Regions from separate parts of the Homo sapiens genome. Here regions 1, 2 and 3 are each linked to region 4. Evidence: promoter capture Hi-C in human tissues and cell types (Jung and others, 2019). All regions are on one chromosome and are shown on one strand. The core of a region is centred on a gene start or on the middle of the fragment in contact, and the rest is flanking DNA. Distances in the headings are between cores, read along the strand shown.

What was found. Contacts are between HindIII fragments. The study calls those that stand out against the background at their distance.
Region 1: a fragment that was not itself captured here is called in contact with the fragment with the promoter of C8orf76 in region 4 in 2 of the 25 tissues and cell types used here (dorsolateral prefrontal cortex and spleen).
Region 2: a fragment that was not itself captured here is called in contact with the fragment with the promoter of C8orf76 in region 4 in 1 of the 25 tissues and cell types used here (mesenchymal stem cells).
Region 3: a contact is called between a fragment that was not itself captured here and the fragment with the promoter of C8orf76 in region 4, in 2 of the 25 tissues and cell types used here (IMR-90 fibroblasts and lymphoblastoid cells).

What each region holds. Positions count from the first base shown.
Region 1 is chr8:122,776,329-122,779,578 of GRCh38, forward strand. It overlaps ZHX2-AS1 (ZHX2 antisense RNA 2), which reads right to left. Exons shown (of 2, transcript XR_007061082.1): 2 at 1,556-1,869. Among named protein-coding and RNA genes, the nearest start is that of ZHX2-AS1, 3.6 kb to the right of the region's middle. The HindIII fragment of the contact is 3,632 bases long and covers 1-3,198 here.
Region 2 is chr8:122,742,730-122,746,223 of GRCh38, forward strand. No RefSeq gene overlaps it. Among named protein-coding and RNA genes, the nearest start is that of ZHX2-AS1, 37 kb to the right of the region's middle. The HindIII fragment of the contact is 3,392 bases long and covers 413-3,494 here.
Region 3 is chr8:123,724,616-123,728,113 of GRCh38, forward strand. All of the region lies in intron 1 of ANXA13 (annexin A13), which reads right to left. The region is part of intron 1 of LOC105375739 (a long non-coding RNA gene); the gene reads left to right. Among named protein-coding and RNA genes, the nearest start is that of ANXA13, 11 kb to the right of the region's middle. The HindIII fragment of the contact is 8,461 bases long and covers 1-3,498 here.
Region 4 is chr8:123,239,651-123,243,402 of GRCh38, forward strand. C8orf76 (chromosome 8 open reading frame 76) reads right to left here and starts at 1,727. Exons shown (of 6, transcript NM_032847.3): 1 at 1,580-1,727. The coding sequence starts at 1,696. All of the region lies in intron 2 of ZHX1-C8orf76 (ZHX1-C8orf76 readthrough), which reads right to left. RefSeq lists an enhancer at 1,513-2,013 and a silencer at 1,514-1,633. The HindIII fragment of the contact is 18,562 bases long and covers 1-3,752 here.

The DNA.
Region 1 (3,250 bases), core at 133-2,632, 460 kb before region 4:
TTCCTAATATGATCACATTGAGGATTAGGATTTCAACATATGAATTGGGGGGCAAGGGAGCACAAACATTCAGCCCTTCAACCCGTGGCACTGATTCTTATGCTCTCAGAGGGAGCAACATTGTAATAGATTCATACATGAAGAACTGTGACAGGCAGCCAGGTGTCAGCAGTGTGAAACATGTACCGCTTAAGTAGCATGTGTGGCCATGAGATGGTTTTAAATGATGTCCAGGTACAGCACAAAATAGCTCTGACTCAGAGAAAGTTACAACTTTCAATTCTCTTCCCATCCTTTTAATTAGCTCAAGAAAAAATTCTCAGTTTGGTGCTACCCTGTCTCTAATAACCTTCTAACACCTTTCCCCTCCATCTCTACCTTCTGCAAATAAGAGTATCTAGCTAGCTCAATAGTGCTGTTTTTTTTTTCCCATGGTTATTTTCACTGTTACCTTTCATTGGTTCATTTGAAAATTCAATATTGGATTTTCTTGTTTCTATTGTGACAAAAGGCTTCTTTAGTATTAGTATGAAATAAGTGCATTTAAGTTTTAAAAATGTGAATCAATGTAAATAAAATGTTTTCTTTTTTTTTTTTTTTTTTTTTTTTTTTGAGACAGAGTCTAGCTTTGTCACCAGGCTGGAAGTGGTACAATCTTGGCTCACTGTAACCTCTGCCTCCCCGGTTCAAGCGATTCTCCTGCCTCAGCCTCCTGAGTAGCTGGGATTACAGGCACTCACCACCACACCTGGCTAATTTTTTTTTGTTTTTAGTAGAGATGGGGTTTCACCATGTTGGCCAGGCTGGTCTCAAACTCCTGACCTCAAATGATCCACCTGCCTCAGCCTCCCAAAGTGCTGGGATTGCAGGTGTGAGCCATGACCCTGGCCAAATAAAATGTTAAATTAAAAATACTATAGGTAGTTCCTTTGCTACTGGGACAAAATTGGTGAAGGGGGTTTGCACATGAGTTAATTTGCAAGTCACAAGTATAGTGGGAAGCAGGCAGGATTTGTAATCAATCAAATGTGGGCTCAAGACCTGCTTCTAACTTATCAGCTGTATGGCCCATGGATAATTCATAAGCTTCTATAAACTTGTTTTCTCCCACAAATTAAGGAGACAATATACTATTCAGAAGGTTGTTTAAAAGATTAAATTACATAAAGTATAAGAAGCACCTCCCAGGCAGCCATGTACATGGTGGGCACTTGCACTCCCTATCACAGTGTATATCCTTAAATAATGGAAACCTCTGTTTTTGGCAACACCAAACAGGAACTTAACTCCAGTACCTACTGAGTATCTATGCTTGATAAATGAGTTCTTATTTGCTTAGGATCTGGGACCTGTGGCGCGGGATCCTTCATGAGCAACAACTAAAATCAAGAAAAGCTTTGATTTGGAGAGTGGGCCAGCTCAGGCATCATGGACCAAGAGGCCTCTCTACCCCTTGTCCTGGCCTCCAATATTTCACAATGCTACCTATACCCTGCAGAGTTCAGGGGGAAGTAGATCTGAAATATTCAGATATATGTGCAAATAAAGACACGGATAATAACTCCCATTTTATTTATCTATCACTGTGTAATAAACCACCCCAAAAGTTAATAATGTTAAACAACTACAGTCTTATGATCATCTCATTATTCTGTGGGTTGACTAGGTGGAGCTGGATGGTTTTCCTCTACATAATGTCAGGTGAGACTAGAGTCAAGTGGGAGATCGATTAGGCTGGAGCATCCAAGATGGCTAAAGTCTGTGTATTAATCAGGATCTCAGGTGGAGCTATTGTCCCTATCACCTTTGTTTTCACTCCATGTGGCCTCTCCATGAAACTTCGGCTTCTCACAGCATGGCAGCAGGACCCTAAAAGGAAGGAAACAGAAACTGCCAGTCTCTTAAGACTTGGATTTAGATGTCTCAGAATATCACTTTCATTGCATCCAAAGCAATCACAGGACCAGTCCAGATTCCAAGGGAGGGGAAGTAAACTCCACCTCTTAATGGTGATGTATTTTTCAAAAAAGGAAGGAAAGGATTGAAAAAAGCCATCTTAGAAGACTACCACACCTCCTAAAGCTTTCACTTTTTGCAAAAGGTTTTTATTCTTGAAATGTGTGTATATTTCAACTAAGCAAATATGTACCTAGGAATTTATCCTAAGGAAGTAATCGCAGATGATTCAAAAGATCTGACACAAGGTTGTTCATTGGAATAAAATTGAAACTACCCAATGCCCAACAACAGGGGACCAATTAAGTCCAAAGGTGGTTGAGGACAGTGTTTTAAAAGTCTATTCTCTGGGAAGCAGGTAAAATTAAGCTTAAATTCCAACTCCATTACTTAGCATCTGTGTGATGTCGAGCAAGGTACAGTACTTAAGCTCTTTAAGTCTCAGTTTCTATATCGGTAAAATAAAGACAAAATATAGATTTTTGTGATGATTCAATGAGATGATACATATAAAAGGCTCAGCACATGGTAAATGATCAATAATTGTGAACTGCTATTATTATTTATGATAGTCCTTAGTGCTATCATATTAGTGCAAATCTTTCCCATTCTCTCCATTTCCAGGCACACAATACTTCCATGGATCTTTACAGTTAACTTTGTGTTTAGTTCTGACCAATGAGTTGTAAGTGAAAGTGGCATACGTTACTTCCTGGCTGAACATTTACTTGTCCAACATTATTGATTCTGAAGCTCCTAAATACTGTCAGATAACGGTCTGTCTACTCCATGAGTATACTTCAAGCAAACAGGGATCATACCACATAAAGCAAAAGCCACCTTTGTCTTATTCCTCATTGTTTTCTCTTTATATGGTGCAAGTTCAGTCCATGCTAAACTCTGAACAATTTTAAAACACTGCAACACATCAGAAGCCCCTCATCCTTGCTAGTGTCCATGAGATCCAAGTGCTCTGAAGATATGAGAACCCAGCAGACTGTTTAGAGGGTTACCTGGCTTCCCTCCCACCTGGCCCATTCCACCCTACATACAATCTGTCACCCAGCCAGAAGCAGGTGGCAGTGAGGTGGCAGCAAGGGAAACTTGGCTTATAGAAAACCCTCCTAAGTGATTGATCATCCAGAGGAGGTGCAGCCTCAAAATAGGAATAGCTTCGTTAAGGTTTGGGTAATTTCCATGGAAACAGACAGAACTAGACTTATTTTAAAGGGGGGGGGGGCAGGGCGTGGAATAGCCTGCAAGGGGCATAATAAGGTAAGCGATGTAAAAATGT
Region 2 (3,494 bases), core at 859-3,358, 500 kb before region 4:
GTGTTTTACTGGCGGGTGGAGCTGGCGCACCCCTTCACTTTCTGCATCGGCACACACAGACCTCTTCCCAAAGGAAGCCTTCTCTCTGTACCTGATTCTCTGCCCATTACTGGGTTTGTCATGCAACCTGGCCATCCCTACCCATGAAGCTGGTTGGGTAAGTGGACTTAGAGATGGCACTGCATGGCCAGGCAGTCTAGACTTGAGGAACAGAGAAAAGGTGGCCACATTTTCTTCAGATCTAAGGCTCTGATCTATTATCCAGCTTTTATCCAAAAACACCTTCATTTGGGGGTTTTATAGTACTGGCAAATCATCGTGAAAGCTCGTACTTTGTTCTTCATTTGACTGCTGTTCCTTATATACAACTTGGCCAGGAACCCATGGGGTAGCAGGGATGAGTGGGAGGATTTACTGTCATCCTGACCAGCCTTTAAATCTGGACATCTGCTACATGGCTGGCATTGTGTGGGTGCTGAATACACAAGAAAGACACTGCCCTTGCCCTTGAGGGGCTCATAGCCTGTGGGAGGAGGCAGAAATGTAAGCAAATAAGTGTGACAATAGGTACAATATGGTGTGATAAATACTATAATACAACAATGTACAAAGTGCCAGGAGAGCACAGAGAAGGAGAAAACTCATTCAGCTGCAACAGAGGGATTGGAAAAGAGCCTGGGAAGACTTCAAAGAGGAAGTGACATTTAAGCTCCATCTTAAAGATTAAACAAGAGAGAAGCAAGACCAGGAGATTCCAAGCAGAAGAGACAGTATGTGCAAAAAAAAAAAAAGGAGGGGGAGAGGCAGAGCTCTGTGCGCACTTTATAGGAGGGTAAGGCATAGACTACTGGGGTCGTAGTGATTTTCTTATTTTATTAATCTGTATAAGCTCTTTATAAATTGAAGCAGTCATTCCTTTGTATATTGGTGTTGTTAATCAGAGACTTTATCTGCAGTAGTGTATGGAGGAGGTTACAGTGGGGAAAGCCTGGAGAGAAGGCTGTTGGTCCTCTCGGAAGCAATGTAGAACCGGAGCAGGTAGGGAACAAGGGTGCATGCCAAGTGAAGGGGCAAGAGTGGACGTCAAACCAGAAGGAGAATCTGCTGCATCCTAGTGGAGTGTTCTTTGTTCTACCTCACACAGGGTGCAGCCTAGAAGGGGCCTCAGGCAATGAAAGGATTGGCTGCCTGTGGAGTTTTTAGGGGAGAGATATGGACATTTCGAAAATAAATATCTCCTTCATCATTTCCATAAAGCCCTACTCTTCTGGTGGAATTCCACTTACTCAAATTTCAGTTGAGAAAGCCCTTGGTAATGAGAAAATTAGTTAATGTTTTATTATGTGCTGGACCATTAACAAGGGCTTCATGAAGAAGATGAGATTGAATTTGGTCTTGAAGAAGGTAGGATTTGGGTGCATGGGGAAGAGATGAGCACAGCAATCCCAAGAAAAGATTCCTTCATGCTTCTACTAACCACTGTCTTGGCTTAGCACCCTTTCTTAGATAAGTTGTTTTTGGTTTCAAATTAACAAAAATCAAGTGAGTCTAGCTCAGTGAAAAGAGGAGGAAGTGTGGGAGAGATAATGGGTGTCTCACAAACTGTCACCTCAGTTCCAACCACTTGCAAAGACTCTGCTCAAGGTCTCCCTCTTTCAATCCTAGTTCTCAGAAACAGATCTGATTGGCCCACCTGGAGTCACAGGTTCAATCCCAGCCAGTCAACTCTTGCTTAAGGTCTGCATCTCATGGAATCAACCTTGCTGCTTGGGGCAAAAAAAAAAAAAAAAAAAAAGTCAGCATAAGCAAATTCACTGTAACCAAATTCAGTTCTTTCAGGAGGAGAGAGAATACATCCTTGAGGTTCCTTCTGTCCTGGAGCTAAAGATGCAGCTGAAACCTATGACCAATTAGAAACCTTAATTTGGCGTGCAAAATAGAGTTGCCAGAATCAGCAAATAAAAATACCAGATGCCCCATAAAATTTGAATACTTAACCTACAAGCGCTTAGTAAAAGTATGCTCTATGCAATATTCGAGACATACTAAAAAATTCTTCATTGTTTATATGAAATTAAAATTTAATTGGGCATCCTGCATTTTATCTGCCAGCCCTAGTGGAAAGGCCATACTTTTGCAGGACTCTGAATTCTTGACATTTCCAAAATAATAATCATAACTCTGGGAATGTAAATGCCTGAGACAGATGTAGGGGTTTGCAATATGCCAAATTGAGGACACCGAGAGTGAAGCTGGCACCCTGAGAGGGAGAGGTGGATCTGCATAATTATCAGTGAATTAAATTGCTTTGTTGCAGAGAGTCAGCTTATTAAATATGCATTTCAATTTTGGAGTGGTTGGCTGAAGAATTTGAGTATCAACAGATGGGAAATCCCTTGCTGCAGCCATGACCTTTACCTGTCATGCTGGTTCACAGGACCACATGCAAGAAGACATGATTATTATTCTCCCAAGTGTCATTCTCCGGAGGCTTTGGACAGGGAGCATGAGGCTCCCATTGGGCAGGCTGGGCTGGGAATGTGGCAAGCCACATGGCTACCTAGATGGGCACATGGCCTTGTTGGCTTATGCTAATCTTCTCATATGACTTGGCTCTTCCCTCTCTGTGAAAACAACACTGTTCTTAGTGTTTAACAAACTTGAGTCCTGGTCCTGCCGCTGTCTCTCTCAAGCTTTATGAGCTGGAGCAAATCATAAAACCTCTCTGAGCCTCAGTTTCCTCAGTTGTTAATTGGGGATAATATTACCCATCTAACAAGGTCATTGGGTAGAGTCAATGGCTCCCTGCCTATGTAATTGTACCAGTCCCTCAAACTTGCCCTAGTCTCTCTCCTCCTATTGTCTGTGTTCCCAAGGTGAGCCATTTTAATAGTGTCCTCCTAACTACATTAAAAGGCATGCTTTGTTAAGCTCTAACTGTAGAGATTTATTATTCCACTGTCTCCAACTCTGAGCCACCCAGCTTGCTGGCATCAAATCATAAAACTGATCCATGTTAGCCAGCCCCAGCAGGGCTCTCCCTGAGCTCGATCATCCTTTTACTCTTTTCCAACAGGACCATAGCTCAGAGCTTTTTATGGCTAAAACACAATGTGAGGTTTTGTTTGCACATTGCACACATGACCAGGAAGAGGAATAGGTTCATGGGATCTTGCCCTGGAAGCCTTATCTAATCCCTAAGAAGAGAAGTGCTTCAAGAGAAGATGAGAAGACTGCCTTGATGAGGGATTTTCTGAGGCATGGGGGCCCTCATAGCACTGCTTTGGAGCCTAGGTGACAAAGTGTGACTAAGTGTGTGATAGACACTAAGATACACCAGGATCCAGTTCCCAGTCCCCTTGCACTTGAGTGAGTGAGATGCTGTGTGTCATTCCCATACACTTAATTGACCATACAAACCCCTCCAAAATCCTCTTTCCCAGAGAATATCTACAGAGAGGCTAAGCGTTCCAGATGGTGCTGTTCCAGACCAG
Region 3 (3,498 bases), core at 611-3,110, 490 kb after region 4:
TTTAGCATGAAATCTTAAAGTGAAAATTGAACCCAGGTTTTTCCAAATGGGTGACATGGAACACTGAAAGCATTAAAGCCATTGGACCTCCAGCTAGGAAAGGAACTCCTTTTAAAATTCTCTCCCAACTCTTCTGATTAAGTCTTTGCTTAGTGATAGTGGATCTTTCACACTCGTCTAATCCAGGGGTTGGCAAACTGCAGACTGAGGACCATATCTGGCCCATTACTTATTTTTGTAAATAAAGTTTTATTGGAACACAGCCAACCCATTCATTTACATTTGGCCTATGGCTTCTTTCACGCTACAATGGCAGAGTAGTTACCTACTTGCACCAGAGGTTCTGTGGCCCACAAAGCCTCATTATTTACTTTGTGGACTCCCACTGTATCCCATGTGGACCATGTAAACAGGTCCTTTTTTAGTCAGAGGATAGGACCTTACCCTTCAGCTGGCAACATCAAATTTAGTTAGAATTTAATACATTCTTTTTGCTTTCATTTAGTTATCTATATTTATGTCAACTGACATTAATTTTCCATTTATGGTATCAGTATAAAATTTCCTTTTAAGATTAATTTATATTAAAAAGTGCGTATTTAAAAATAATTAATAGAATAATTAGTAGAAGAGGTAACCCATATATTTGGCAACAATCATGAAGGTTGTACTTAAATCTGAAGTTTGGGAGACATTGAATGTATCCAATCCCATCATTTACAAATAAAGAAACTGAAGCCTGGTTGTTAAGTCACCTGCTCAGGGTCACCTTATGGAAACATCCATCTCCTATCTCTCTCAGAACAATGTTCTTTTACCTCTAACCGGTTACTCATTTGCACTTTGAAGCCAGTTAGTATGAATGCAAATTATTGTACTTTTAACATTCATGAATTCAGAGCCAGAAAATATCCTGGTGACATTTCCACAGACATGGTTAGTAGAGATTGATGAGCAATTTGAAACAAAATAGAGGGGCCATTCACATCTGAAGCATGAATCTTGGGTGATTAGTGACATATTGGTTTCATTAAGTCATAAAACTACCCAACAGAAAAAAATATATTTGGCAGTATACCCTGTTGGGTATATTTAAGCACAGTTTGAATACGAATATTTGGTATTTCATCATGTAGTTATTGCTGTTTTCATTAGGATTCTCCAGGATCTCACACCGACTAAAAGCAAGCCAATTCCTTCATGCCTAGAACCTCTTCCCACATTAGAAGTTTATTAATCTGCGGGGGTTGATCAGAGAGCTGTTGGGAAAGTGTGTTAGGAAACTTGAGCTCTGCCCACCTTAGTAGGGTGCTGGAATGTTACAGAGTTGTTCATTGCTGTTGATACCTCCTTTCCAAGATGCAGTATTACAGTGACTTACATGATGACTAAGTGTTTGGCTATCACTCTAAAGGGGCAGAAATATTTGTATCATTTAACAACTAAAACTAAAACTAGAAAAACATCCATTTGGATCACAGCTCAACATGATTTGCTTGCATATGTTGACTGTATGTTCTGAAAAATGAGTTCAGTTCTTTAGATTAAAACATGACCTTTCTATTACATTTGGGATTGCTTCCATGTTGGCATTTCAGCACCTTTTAATGAAGATTGGTATAGTTAGGTCATTTTCCAGAAAGACAAGCTTCCTTAGGCTATGCCATCTGGGTTACACGTGTTGATGTGATATTTACTTATCAAAGGTGACTGCAGGGCTGGGTAGGAGTTAGGAGACCTGACTTGAAGGCCCTTCAATATGCTGTGCCTTAAACTGGTGGGCACCATTGTACCTGAAGGTACTGATGGTATCCTCAGGAGTGTAAACAATGTGGGCATCCTGCCATGCACTGAGCTGTGGTATAGGGAGTCCAAGTGGGGTAGCCCTTTTGGGGGCTACACCCAAACAGAGGAGAGGTGAGCCAATCAGCTCCTGAAGGTTCCAGCCTGTGTCTTTCCAGGGGAGCACTGCTCATCTAGGCAGGAAATCCAGCAGCCCAGCAGCCTTTTTACTGAGGGTTTCTGCAGTGAAACCCTTCTCACTCTGGTATAAGAACTACTATTTGATCCAGCAATCTCACTACTGGGTATCTACCTAGAGGAAAAGGAGTCATTATATGAAAAAGATACTTGCACATGCATATTAATAGCAGCACAATTTGCGATTGTAAAAGTGTGGAACCAACCCAAATGCCCATCAATCAATGAGTGGATAAAGAAGCTGTGGTATATATATACAATAGACTACTACTCATCCATAAAAAGGAATGAATTAATGGCATTTGCAGCAACCTGGATGGGATCGGAGAATACTATTCTAAGTGAAGTAACTCAGGAACAGAAAACCAAACATCATATGTTCTCACTCATAAGTGGGAGCTAAGCTATGAGGACGGAAAGGCATAAGAATGATACAATGGATTTTTGGGACTTGGGGGAAAGGGTGGGAGAGGGTAAGGAATAAAAAACTACAAATAGGGTTCAGTGTATACTGCTCGGGTGATGGGTGCACCAAAATCTCACAAATGACCACTGAAGAACTTACTCATGTAACCAAATACCACCTGTTCCCCCAAAACCTACAGAAATAAAGAATTTTTAAAAAAGAAGAAGTTGTTACTCATGGGCTAACAGTTTTGAGAAAAACTGCTGCCTCTTGGCTGCTGCTGTCATCAACAGGAGGATAAGGGTCAATCTTCAGGAGAAGCTGACTTTTCTCTGTTATAAGAGAAGAAATCAGTGTAGGGACATGCCTGGGCCAGAAGGGCAGGAATGGTGATTTCTGGTGGAGATCCAGTGACATAAAGACATTCTGAGGACATCTGCCCTGGAGCCTTGTTTTCCCATTTAAGCGGTGGTTCTCAATAAACCAGGAGCGATTTTTGTCTCCCAGGAGACAATTGGCAATGTCTGGAGACATTTTCAGTTGGCACGAGTAGGGGAGTATTACTGGAATATCTAGTGATAGAGGCCAGGATTCTGCTAAACATCCTTCAGTAATGCACAGAACAGACAGCCCCCCTCCCCCCGCCCACACACACACAAATAATTACCTGGTCCCAAATGTCAGCAGTGCCAAGGACGAATGTGCCAAGGGTCCACAACCCTGGCTGAATGGTTGTAACGATTCTGTCAACGGGTCTCTTTAAAAAGTGTGGAGAAGGCCAAGCCTCTGGTGGTAAACGGCACACAGGTGCTGACTAAAGCAAGGCCTCCAGTCACCAAGGGCAAATTGCTGTGGTAACTTAAAAGGGAAGAATAGAAATGGACCATGATGTCTTACATTCTTTAATTTTTTTGCAAAGAAACCCAGATGACAAATCTGAAAGATGAGTGCTGAGATAAGGTAACTAGGAGGAAGGTGTGAGCTGAGATCAGTTCAAAGTGAGAAACCTGTTGTCACCTCCTGCTTCTTTGTCTGCATCAAGATTGTTGTGAACATCCCAGCCTATACCGGCAGGGCAACGTGCCCAAGTGACATCTCTCTGTTGACTCATT
Region 4 (3,752 bases), core at 477-2,976:
CTATGGATAAAAAGGAAAGTGAGACTGAGATTGCTTGACTATTGAATAAATAACGTAGGGAAAGGCAGTGGCTTACACCTGTAATCCCAGCAATTTGGGAGGCCGAGGCGGGCAGATCACTTGAGGTTAGGAGTTTGAGACCAGCCTGGCTAACAACAGTAGAGAAACCCTGTCTCTACTAAAAATACAAAATTAGGCCGGCATGGTGGCACACGTCTGTAATCCCAGCTAGCTGGGAGGCTGAGGCAGGAGAATCGCTTTAACCCGGGAGGTGGAGGTTGGGGTGACCCGAGATCGCGCCACTGCACTCCAGCATGGGCAACAAACTCCACCTCAAAAAAAAAAAAAAGAAAAGAAAAAAATCACTTCATTTTAGAATTTATATTAAATTCTATGCACCTGTACAGCACATCAGATCTGACAAAGTATTTTCATATACATTATCTCATTTCACTCCCACGATAACTCTGTGAGCCAGCATGTATTATTTTTCTGAAGGGACAAATAAGGAGCTGACACCTTCAAGGCAAGTGGTTAAAGCCAACACTGGAATTCAAGAGTCCTATCTCATAACCAGAGTTTTTTTAATGTTCTGCCACATGATTTCCAAGCCCAATCCCTGTTTTGAGTCTACATGATCCAGGGCTGAAGGTAACTTTGAAAGATCGTATGTGATAAGGAGAAAATGCAACTGAAATAACCAAAAACACAATTCAGTAATTATCGAGTGCCTGGCATCTTGTCAGTACAATTGTGAGGAACGAATGAGACAGTATATGCGAAGGAACCCACCACAGTGCCCGGAACACTTCCGTATTTTCCATAAATATTAGTTTTGACTGATGAACTATTTACACTCATGAAAGAATAGGAAGTAATACTCTACTAATTCAAAAATATTCGCGGAGTCACTATTATTAATAAAAACTGTTAGGCACTGCCAAGGGCATCAAGAACCCATGCTGGTGCGATCATTTAGCACTCCGGGTCTCAGGACTTTGTGGGAATACTGACAAGTGCTTTAAGTAGAAGCTAAATAGAGGGAAGGGGGCCAAAGACAAAAATATTTGGCTGGAAGACGAAATCAGAAAAGACTTCCTAGAGGAGATGACATTTAAGATGTGCCTTGAAAAACGGATATAACTGAAGGACTTTAACCATCAGCGCGGGGTTGGTACGGGCAGGGGGAGCTCGCCGAAGAGGGAGGGGAGAGTGGGTTTGCCGGAGGTCACCGTTTTGGGAGGCCTGACTGCCCAGCTGTAAGAGCAGTGAAGACAAACGGGAGGTACCGGAGATTGCAGGGCAGGGGCGTTGAGACCAGCCGGCAGCAGCCAGGCCGGCCAAATGCCAAGTGGGAGTCAAGCCGCTTACAACGCGGGGATTCTCGCCCATGGACCCGGAATGGGGCCTGGGAAAGCCGCTTCCCCGTGGAGGAGGAGGGACGGCGGGGGACGCGGCGGGCGCTGGAGCCTGCCAGGGTTTGCGTTCGCGCGGACGGAGGGGCCGAGGCCGGGGCCGGGGCCCCGCGGAGGGCGAGGCCTGGGGCCCGGGATAAGGCGAAGAGGCCCCAGCTTCTCACCTGCGGCTCGCAGAGCTTGGCGCAGTAGGACGCGGGCGGTCCTGACCGCCGCTCCGGCCTCTCCTCGAACACCGAGTCCTCGAACTCGCCGCCGAACAACCAGCACCCGGAATCCATCTCGCGCCCGCGGCGGGGGCAACGAGGAAGCGGGGCCCGCCGGAAAAGGCGGGGCTTCCACGGCCCAGAGCGCGGCACGCTGGGACTTGTAGTCTTTGAGGGCGACGCGGGGACGTGGCCGCTGCTGGTTGGGAGTAGTGGTTGAGCTGAGATGATTATCTGACCCACTAACTGACCGAACCCCAGGACGGAGGTTTTGACTTCTCTGTGTCAGGAGATGGACAGAATGATCCTTACCTGCACGCATCAAAAAGCACGCTGGCCCCAGAGTAGCTGTTTAAAACTCGCAGGTACCTTTTTAAAAATTAAAATAAGAGGCCGGGCGCGGTGGCTCAAGCCTGTAATCCCAGCACTTTGGGAGGCCAAGGTGGGCGGATCACTTGAGGTCGGGAGTTCGAGACCAGCCTGACCAACATTGAGTAACCAGGTCTGTACTGAAAATACAAAAATTAGCCGGCCGTAGTGGCGCGCGCCTGTAATCCCAGCTACTCGGTAGGCTGAGGCAGGAGAATCGCTTGAACCCGGGAGGCGGAGGTTGCGGTGAGCCAAGATCGCATCATTGCACTCCAGCCTAGGCAACAAGAGTGAAACTTCGTCTCAAAATAAAAAATAAAATAAAATAAAATAAATAAAATAATTTCGAGACAGGGTCTCGCTCTGTCGCCCAGGTTGGAGTGCAGTGGTGAGATCATGGCTCACTGCAGCCTCGAACTCCCAGACTCAACCTATCATCCCGCCTCAGTCCCCCAAGTAGCTGGGGCTACAGGCGCGCGCCACCATGACCGTCTAACTTGTGTATTTTTTGTGGAGACTGGGTTTCCCTACGTTGCCCAGGCTGGTCTCGAACCTGATCTCAAGCGATCCGCCCACCTCGTTCTCCCAAAGTGCTGGGATTATAGGCGTGAGCCACTAAGCCCGGTGCAAGTACCAATTGTCAACCACTGTGCATTCCCGTCACTGTGTTAAGCACATTTTTTCTTTTCGGCTAACAACCACCTTATGAAAGCCAAAGTGATTCCCATTTTGCAAATCCTATTTTGAAGATATTGGAGTTTGGAGAGGTTAAGTAACTTGTTAAGTTTCGGTCATTATGTGGCTGAAACTTGGGAAATACAGAAATGAATGCGTACTCTCCGTGCTTCCGGACAAGAGACACTACCACCAATAACAAAGACCGGAGTCATTCACGCATTTATGAAAGAAAAGACACAGAAATATACCGTGGGAGGCTAGATCAGGGAGCATTCATTCGACCTGGAGAACACCAAATCTCAAAATTCTAAGACTAACATTTACTACAATTCTTATACTTTTAAGATATTTCTTGACTCTAGAAAGTAAAGATTGTTGACAAAATGCTGGCCAATACTGTACAGCACAATATTGTGCCATATTACACAGTAGGAAATAAACATAAAGGTTTTCCCCGATTTTTTTCCTGTTCCTCTTCACTCTCACCAGTTTCTCTTCCACCATTTATCTGTCTTCCAGGTTTCTTTTTTAAAATTTTATCTGTTTATTTATTTCTGAGACAGGGTCTCGCTCTGTCGCCCAGGCTGGGGTGCAGAGGCGCAATTTCGGCTCACTGCGTCCTCAACCTCCTTGGCTCAAGCCATCCTCCCACCTCAGCCTCCCGCGGGCCACCACACACTGCTACTTTTTTGTATTTTCAGTAGAGAGGGGTTCTTTCATGTTGACCAGGTTCAGCGTTCTTTCTTCAACCCAACTTTTTCCTCCACAAACTCACCTAATCCACTCCCCCAGGTTTCAGAATCCATCTCTCTGCTAATTATTGCCAAAATCTAGAACCAGCTCATTTATCCAGCAGCCTCAGGTGGGAGGCTCCAGCTGAACAGCCTCCAGGCATTAGTTACTGATGAATGAATTCATCAAGATCCACTTAAGAACATTTTTCTGGCCGGGAGTGGTGGCTCACGCCTGTAATCCCAGCACTTTGGGAGGCCAAGGCTGGTGGATCACCTGAGGTCGGGAGTTCGAGACCAGCCTGGCCAACATGGAGAAACCCCATCTCTACTAAAAATACAAAATTAGCAGT